Linked DNA regions of Homo sapiens: region 1 is linked to region 2. The links are contacts of gene promoters, found by promoter capture Hi-C in blood cells and fetal thymus (Javierre and others, 2016). All regions are on one chromosome and are shown on one strand. Each heading gives the region's core, a stretch centred on a gene start or on the middle of the fragment in contact. The rest is flanking DNA. Distances are from core to core; before and after follow the strand shown.

Region 1 (4,195 bases), core at 1,173-3,672, 210 kb before region 2:
AGCTGGGATTACAGGCTCACACCACCACACCCGGCTAATTTTTGCATTTTTAGTAGAGACGGGGTTTCACCATGTTGGCTAGAATGGTCTTGATCTCTTGACCTTGTGATCTGCCCGCCTCTGCCTCCCAAAGTGCGGGGATTACAGGCGTGAGCCACTGCGCCTGGACAGTTATTTTTTTATGACTTCTTGTTTTTATTTCTATCACTAATCTCTCCTTTATCTTTTTGAGGATTTTATTACCTTAATTTAACTTTTTGGTCTACCAGTTTCAATAACTATGCTTCAAATGGTTCATGTTGGTCTTTTTGGGGGGTATTTTGTTACAATTTCTGTACATCTCAGGTTCTGGTGATTTTGGCTTGTGAGCCTGTGTTTCCTGGGCTGGAGTGGGGGTTGTTCTCAGCTACTGCATCTGGAGGTATTGGGGGAAATCCTCAGTGTGGACAGCCAAAGGCACTGCAGAACTAGTGTCACCATTTTGTTTGCGGTCATTCCGCTGGGCAACATCCTGGATGGGAATTTGCCTTTAAGCTTTATGTTGTGCACATGTACCCTGGAACTTAAAGTATAATAAAAATCTATCTATATATATACAAAATAAAAAAATAAAATATTCACTCATACATGTGGAAAAAAAATAAAAAAATAAAAAAATAAAAAGCAGCTCTGGGAAAAGGCAGTCTCCCTGGATTTAAACCTCCAGCTCTGTGGATTTGCAGTGGGAGGAAGCTTGTTGCCTCAGATCAGCCCCCGACTTACTTGCATCAGCTTTTTATCCTGATAGGCCTTGTGTTTTGCCCTGCTTGTTTCTTCTCTGGAGGCAATTGTATCATATCCTTGTTTTTTTCCAATCCTTAGACCTTGAAAAAATGTTTTCCTTAGTGTAATGGTCAGAACCTTCAAATTAATGTTGAATAAAGTGATAATAGCAAGAATCCTTTCCTTGTGTTTGACTTTAACAGGAACAATTTTAAAGCATTTACTGTTCATTCATTTACTGTTAAGAATAATTTAATGTTAAGAATAAGATTGCAGGCTGGGTGTGGTGGCTCATGCCTGTAATTCCAGCACTTTGGGAGGCCGAGGTAGGTGGATCCTTTGAGCTCAGGAGTTTGAGACCAGTGAGGGCAACGTGGTGAAACCCCACTAAAAAAAAAAAAATAAGATTGCAGTAGGTTTTTGCTTGTTGGTCAAGATGTTCCTTTCTATTCCTAGATTATTAAGCGTTATTATTATAAATGGGTATTGAATTTATTCTGGCATCATCATATGGTTTTAATTTTTAATCTCTTAATGTGGAGACTTACATTAATGTATTTTCTAATGTTAAAGTCATCCCTGCAATCATGACATAAACCCAACTTAGTCATAATTTTTCTTAAGTATAATACTTGATTCCATTTGCTAACAGTTTATTTAGGATTTTGCATCTATAATCATAAGTGAGATTGGGTCTCAATTTTCCTTTCTCATACGATACATTTCTGGTGTTGGTATGTAGGATGATCTGCTTGGTACATGGGTTTGGCTGTATGTAACGGATACCAAAAATAGTGGTGACGTGAATGAGAGGGAAGTTTTTTTTTTCTGTCCTGTATTATCTGGAGGTTGGTGGTCCAGGGCTGGTTTGGTGGTTCTGCTTAACCACCCCTAGTTCGTATGGTCCAAATAGCTCATGTACTTTCTAAGTGGCAGGGTGAAGAAACGGCATGTCTCTGACTTTTGAGCATGAATCAAAACTTGCATACCCCATTTCTACTTCTCTTGGCCAGAACTTAGTCATATGGCTACACTCAGCTGCAAGGAAGGCTGGGAAGTGTGGCCTTTATTTGAACTTAAAAGCAAAGATTCTTTTGCTGTGAAAGACAAGGGGAGAATAGGTAATAGGACAATTAGCAGTCTCTACCATAAAGGTTATTTTATATATGCCACATATGGGCAGTATTTCCTTTTTCTATTTTCTGGAAATTTAAGTTTGTATGATTTTTTTTTCTTTTTTTTTTTGGCTGACTTTTGTTTTTTTTTTTTTTAAATTTATTTATTTATTTATTTTTTAATTGATCATTCTTGGGTGTTTCTCGCAGAGGGGGATTTGGCAGGGCCATAGGACAATAGTGGAGGTAAGGTCAGCAGATAAACAAGTGAACAAAGGTCTCTGGTTTTCCTAGGCAGAGGACCCTGCGGCCTTCTGCAGTGTTTGTGTCCCTGGGTACTTAAGATTAGGGAGTGGTGTTGACTCTTAATGAGCATGCTGCCTTCAAGCATCTGTTTAACAAAGCACATCTTGCACCGCCCTTAATCCATTTAACCCTGAGTGGACACAGCACATGTTTCAGAGAGCACAGGGTTGGGGGTAAGGTCACAGATCAACAGGATCCCAAGGCAGAAGAATTTTTCTTAGTACAGAACAAAATGAAAAGTCTCCCATGTCTACTTTCTACACAGACACGGCAACCATCCGATTTCTCAATCTTTTCCCCACCTTTCCGCCCTTTCTATTCCACAAAACCGCCATTGTCATCATGGCCGGTTCTCAATGAGCTGTTGGGTAGACCTCCCAGACAGGGTGGTGGCCGGGCAGAGGGGCTCCTCACTTCCCAGTAGAGGCGGCCGGGCAGAGGCACCCCTCACCTCCCGGACGGGGCGGCTGGCCGGGCGGGGGGCTGACCCCCCCCACCTCCCTCCCGGACGGGGCAGCTGGCCGGGCAGAGGGGCTCCTCACTTCCCAGTAGGGGCGGTTGGGCAGAGGCGCCCCGCACCTCCCGGACGGGGCGGCTGGCCGGGCGGAGGGCTGACCCCCCCACCTCCCTCCCGGACGGGGGTGGCTGCCGGGTGGAGACGCTCCTCACTTCCCAGACGGGGTGGCTGACGGAGGGAGGGGCTCCTCACTTCTCAGACGGGGTGGCTGCCGGGCGGAGGGACTCCTCACTTCTCAGACGGGGCGGTTGCCAGGCAGAGGGTCTCCTCACTTCTCAGACGGGGTCGCGGCCGGGCAGAGGCGCTTATCACATCCCAGACGGGGCGGCGGGGCAGAGGCGCTTCCCACATCTCAGACGATGGGCGGCCGGGCAGAGACGCTCCTCATTTCCTAGATGGGATGGCGGCCGGGCAGAGACGCTCCTCACTTTCCAGACTGGGCAGCCAGGCAGAGGGGCTCCTCACATCCCAGACGATGGGCAGCCAGGCAGAGACGCTCCTCACTTCCCAGACGGGGTGGCGGCCGGGCAGAGGCTGCAATCTCGGCTCTTTGGGAGGCCAAGGCAGGCGGCTGGGAGGTGGTTGTAGCGAGCCGAGATCACGCCACTGCATTCCAGCCTGGGCACCATTGAGCACTGAGTGAACGAGACTCCGTCTGCAATCCCGGCGCCTCGGGAGGCCGAGGCTGGCGGATCACTCGCGGTTAGGAGCTGGAGACCAGCCCGGCCAACACAGCGAAACCCCGTCTCCACCAAAAAAATACAAAAACCAGTCAGGCGTGGCGGCGCGCGCCTGCAATCGCAGGCACTCGGCAGGCTGAGGCAGGAGAATCAGGCAGGGAGGTTGCAGTGAGCCGAGATGGCAGCAGTACAGTCCAGCTTCGGCTTGGCATCAGAGGGAGACCGTGGAAAAGGATTTTTTTTCTTATTTGGTAAACTTGTCTATGAAAACCATCAATTTTATCTTTGTTAGGTAGATTTATACTGCTAATCAATTTCTTTAATGATTATAGGTCTTCAGATTTTCTCCTTCTTAGTCAATGTTGGTCAGCTTTACATATAAATAATTTACATATATATAAAATTTACATATATATAATTTTTTTTCCTGCAAAGCTGCCTATTTCATCTAATTTAAAAAATGTCAACCTCAGCTTTAGCTGGGGGAATCCTGGTTAATCTGGTTTAAGAGTATAAGTCTTCAAAGTAATTTTGTTTTGCTTTTCCCAAGTGCCCCAAGGCCAAAACCAGTTTAGTATTACTTTTTATGTTGACTTCTTGGCTTTGGGGTTTTCTGAACCATTCCAGCCATGTAAACTAAAATCCCAAATCTGCATGAAGACAGGCCCAAGGTTAAAATTTCTCTAAGAAAACTTTCTCCATCCAGAGCCCAGGCGAAGACGTACAAGCTTCCTCGAAATCTCATTTTGCTCATGAGAGGTTTTTTCTTTCAGCCCATTCTTTCACCAAGAAAGTGGTACTTGGGGCACCTTGCT
Region 2 (4,215 bases), core at 1,587-4,086:
GTTTTGAGAGTTCCTCTTGGTATTGATTTCTATTTTTATTCCACTGCGGTCCAAGATTCTTGGTATGATTTTGATTTTTTTGAATTTATTGAGATTTGCCTTATGACTGAGCATGTGGTTGATCTTAGAGTATGTTCCATGTGCAGATGAAAATAATATATATTCTGTGGTTGTTGGGTGCATTGTTCTATAGATGTCTATTAAGTCTAATTGGTCAAGTGTCAAATTTAAGTCCATAATTTCTTTGTTAGTTTTCTGCCTTGATGATTTGTCTACTGATGTCAGTGGGGTGTTGTCCCCTGCTATTATTGTGTGGCTGCCAAAATCTTTTCTTAGATGCAGAAGTACTTATTTTATAAATCTGGGTGCTCCAGTGTTGGGTGTGTATTTATTTAGGATGGTTAAATTTTCTTGTTAAATCGAACCCTTTATCACTATGTAATGCCCTTCTTTATCCTTTTTTACTGTTGTTGGCTTACAGTCTATCGGATCTGATTCAAGAATAGCAACCTCTGCTCTTTTTTGTTTTCTGTTTGCATGATAGATCTTTCTCCATCCCTTTACTTTGAATCTACAGGTGTCATTACACATGAGACAGGTGCTTGAAGACAGCAGAAGGATGGGTCTTGTTTTTAAATCGAATTTGCCAAGGTATGTGTTTTAAGTGCAGTGTTTAGGCCATTCACATTGGAGGTTAATATTTGTATGTGAGGCTGTGTTCCTGCTTTTTTGATTTCTATTTTTTTTTTTTGAGAGGGAGTCTCACTCTGTTGCCCAGGCTGGAGTGCAGTGGCGCGATCTCGGTTCACTGCAAGCTCCGCCTTGTGGGTTCACGCCATTCTCCTGCCTCAGCCTCCTGAGTATCTGGGACTACAGGTGCCTGCCACCATGCCTGGCTAATTTTTTGTATTTTTAGTAGAGATGGGGTTTCACCATCTTAGCCAGGATGGTCTCGATCTCCTGACCTCGTGATCCGCATTTAGCAACCTCTTGCCTGGATGGCTGGGATCCTGGGCTAGTCCCTTCTCCAGGCAGATGTGAAAAAAAAAAAACATCTCAGGATCCCAAACTTACTAAGCCAGAGGGAAAAGTCAAGCTGGGAAATGGGTCATGCAAGCCTGCCCCCACCCAGGTTGGTTTCTAAATAAGATAGCTACAAAGATAAAAAGCCATACACCAATCTCACAACTTGCCCACAAGGAAATTCCTTGTGAGCCTCAAGATCTTTACCCTAAAACAGTTCTATTGAATTTCACCCTGGCAGTGTAATTGACAGCTTATCTTCACAGGTGTGGGACAAAGGGCAGAACATAAAGTCATCCCTCTGCTCACCCAAGACAAATCCATATCTGATTGCTTCCTCTCCCCTATTTTTGTTATCTTATGTAAAAATGCAGATTCACTGAGCCAGATGAAGGCATAAGTGACTATTTCCTCTACTCCGCTCCCACATGAAAATTGTGTATTCAGTGAAAGATTGATCAAAGACTCAAAAGGATGCAATCACTTGTCTCTTATCTACTGACACATTTAAAAAATATTTCTTCCTCTTCCCCCAATATCCACTGTTTCTCCTTCAAATATTGAAGCCCTCAAAATCATCTTTGGAGAAAGACGTAGACCTACCTCTGGGCACGCATCCTTAACTTTGGCCAAATAAACCTCCTAAAATGATTGAGATTCACCTTGGTCATTGTCATTGATTTACACAAGCCTGATCATCCTGCTCTGGTGGTGTCCTCCTGGGCCTAGTGAAACAAATACTGTCAATGGCTTAACAATGTTGCACTGAGATTGTGTCAGTCAAGGTGACACATGGATCGGAGAGACAGACTTTTGCCTCCAGATCCAGAGAGGTCGGTGGGCACATGAAATGAACTAGCTTTGCTAAGGGGGATATCTGTGTTGTGGGGTAGATGGCAGCACAGGTTCTGGCATGGCCTTGATTGCTCAGCAATCTTATTGACCTCTAGGCATAAACCAAGGGCAGAGTGCTTTTGGATGTCCCTTAGCTTTGGTGCGACATGGGGAATGTACAGATGAGACTTAATCCATTTTGGGCAGGTTTCTGAATCTTGAAGGACCACCTCTCCATGAATCCTGGGCATCTGTTGTCCCTTGCTGCCTCTCTGTGAGTAATAAAGTTGCTTTACTAAAACTCGTGTGAATGTTCTGTCTTACTGAACTCATGAACATGGTAAAGTAACCTAGGCATGGTGAACTTTCTTCACACACAATGATTACCCTACTCCAGCTTTCTAGGTCTTTGTAACAGCCAAGTTAGAAAGTTGGGAAAGCAAAGGGGAGGCATAGTAGCATTGCTCTCTCCTTTTTTGAAAACCTTGGAATCTATTTTGAAAACTGATCCTCTGCTCCAGTGATGAACTTTGCATCCCAGAACGACTTAGGAGGAGGTCTCCCTACCTATCTCCTTAGCTGCATAAAGATCTTTAAGTTGATATTCCATTTGCCAAAACTGAAGAGCTGGTAACCTCATCTGTTAAAACAAGACACTCAGGCTGTAAAGTTTGTTCTCCTAGTCTTTTATTAGGGAGCAGTGGAGTAGAGCTAAACCTGAAACCTGGGCCCTGGCTCAGGGCTAAAAAAGGTTCAGGGCACCCCTGTGCGGGTGGGTGGAGTGGGGGTGATTTTGTTTCAGGCTGAGCAGGAGGGCAAAATTCAGTCTGGGTACAATCTGGGCTGCTCCTGTGGCAGCCTAAGCCACAGGTTTGAAGCTTCTATTGAGCAACAGAGTACTTTACATAAATTGCCTCAAGATGAATCAGAGATTTCTTCACCCAAGGGCTAAGATGAAGCCTGAACTGATTATAAAACCTTCCTTGGCTCAGTGCCCTTCACCACTGCTGGCTTTTTGCTGTAGCTCCACATTCCTGTGCATTGAGGGGTAAGTGCATTTTCCTTGGATGGGTTCTTAGGTGGTCCACAGGGTAGTGACTGCAGGTGACCACTTTGAAATCACAAGGTGTTGGAAACCACAACCCTCCACTTGCCTGAGCACCTCTGGGGTGATATTGCATTTTGGACCCAAGTAGATCAGCTCTTGTTGTGCTATGTAGACTCAGTCCCATGATTTAAGAATGGCTAAGCAGGCCGGGTACGGTGGCTCACGCCTGTAATCCCAGCACTTTGGGAGGCCGAGGCGGGCGGATCATGAGGTGAGGAGATCGAGACCATCCTGGCTAACATGGTGAAACCCCGTCTCTACTAAAAAAATACAAAAAATTAGCCGGGCGTGGTGGCGGGTGCCTGTAGTCCCAGCTACTCGGGAGGCTGGGGCAGGAGAATGGCGTGAACCCGGGAGGCAGAACTTGCAGTGAGCCGAGATCGCCCTACTGCACTCCAGCCTGGGCGGCAGAGTGAGACTCCGTCTCAAAAACAAACAAACAAACAAACAAAAAACCCAAAACAACAACAACAAAAAAAGAATGGCTAAGCAGGGGTGGGTTATGGACCATTTGTGGGGGATATGTGGCCATAGTGCCATCACCTGAGGAAAGCAAACAGCCTGGCCAATCACAGAACCCTTCCCAAGGGACCTTGAGTAAGCAATACCCTCCAAGTTATGCACCCCGGTGGATGAGGTGGTATGGAACATGGGCAACTGAGGCTGATTTTTTTAGACGTTAGACAGTATTATATGTTTTCTCCTCCCCATCCTATCCACACATGAGAAGTTCACCATGGATCAAACAGAGCAGAGACCACAAAATAGATATGGAGGATGTTATGTTTTCTTTAGGCCCTTGATTCAGAAAGAGAGGGGAGAGTGGAGGTTGAGGGGTGGGGGAGAAACTGCCTCTAGACTTCCCTTGTTTCCTTGAAGGTTAACATTAGGCTGGGAAGATGACAAAACTTGAAGAGCATCTGGAGGGAATTGTCAATATCTTCCACCAATACTCAGTTCGGAAGGGGCATTTTGACACCCTCTCTAAGGGTGAGCTGAAGCAGCTGCTTACAAAGGAGCTTGCAAACACCATCAAGGTAGGTGATGCCCCTCTCACTGCAAACTTGCCCATGACCCTGCACTGAGGGGAGTGGCAAGGCCTGGCAGAGGATGGTGGGACAAGGACTGGGGTGGGGTTGGCCCCAGTTTGAGCTCCCAAAGGATGCTCTCCCCGCTGCTGTGGGAGAGGTCCTTTGCTTCCCTCTCTCAATAACTCACTTAAGGCTCTACTCAGTTCCTCTCTCTGAGTC

What was found. The method cuts DNA at HindIII sites, captures the fragments that hold promoters and counts their contacts. A CHiCAGO score of 5 or more calls a contact.
Region 1: a fragment that was not itself captured here is called in contact with the fragment with the promoter of S100A12 in region 2 in 1 of 17 cell types (neutrophils); the score reaches 5.4 in neutrophils.

The regions. Positions count from the first base shown.
Region 1 is chr1:153,581,755-153,585,949 of GRCh38, reverse strand. No RefSeq gene overlaps it. Among named protein-coding and RNA genes, the nearest start is that of S100A2, 18 kb to the right of the region's middle. RefSeq lists an enhancer at 1,943-2,867. The HindIII fragment of the contact is 3,376 bases long and covers 735-4,110 here.
Region 2 is chr1:153,374,242-153,378,456 of GRCh38, reverse strand. It overlaps S100A12 (S100 calcium binding protein A12), which reads left to right and starts at 2,836. Exons shown (of 3, transcript NM_005621.2): 1 at 2,836-2,905; 2 at 3,845-4,002. The coding sequence starts at 3,865. The HindIII fragment of the contact is 5,829 bases long and covers 2,738-4,215 here.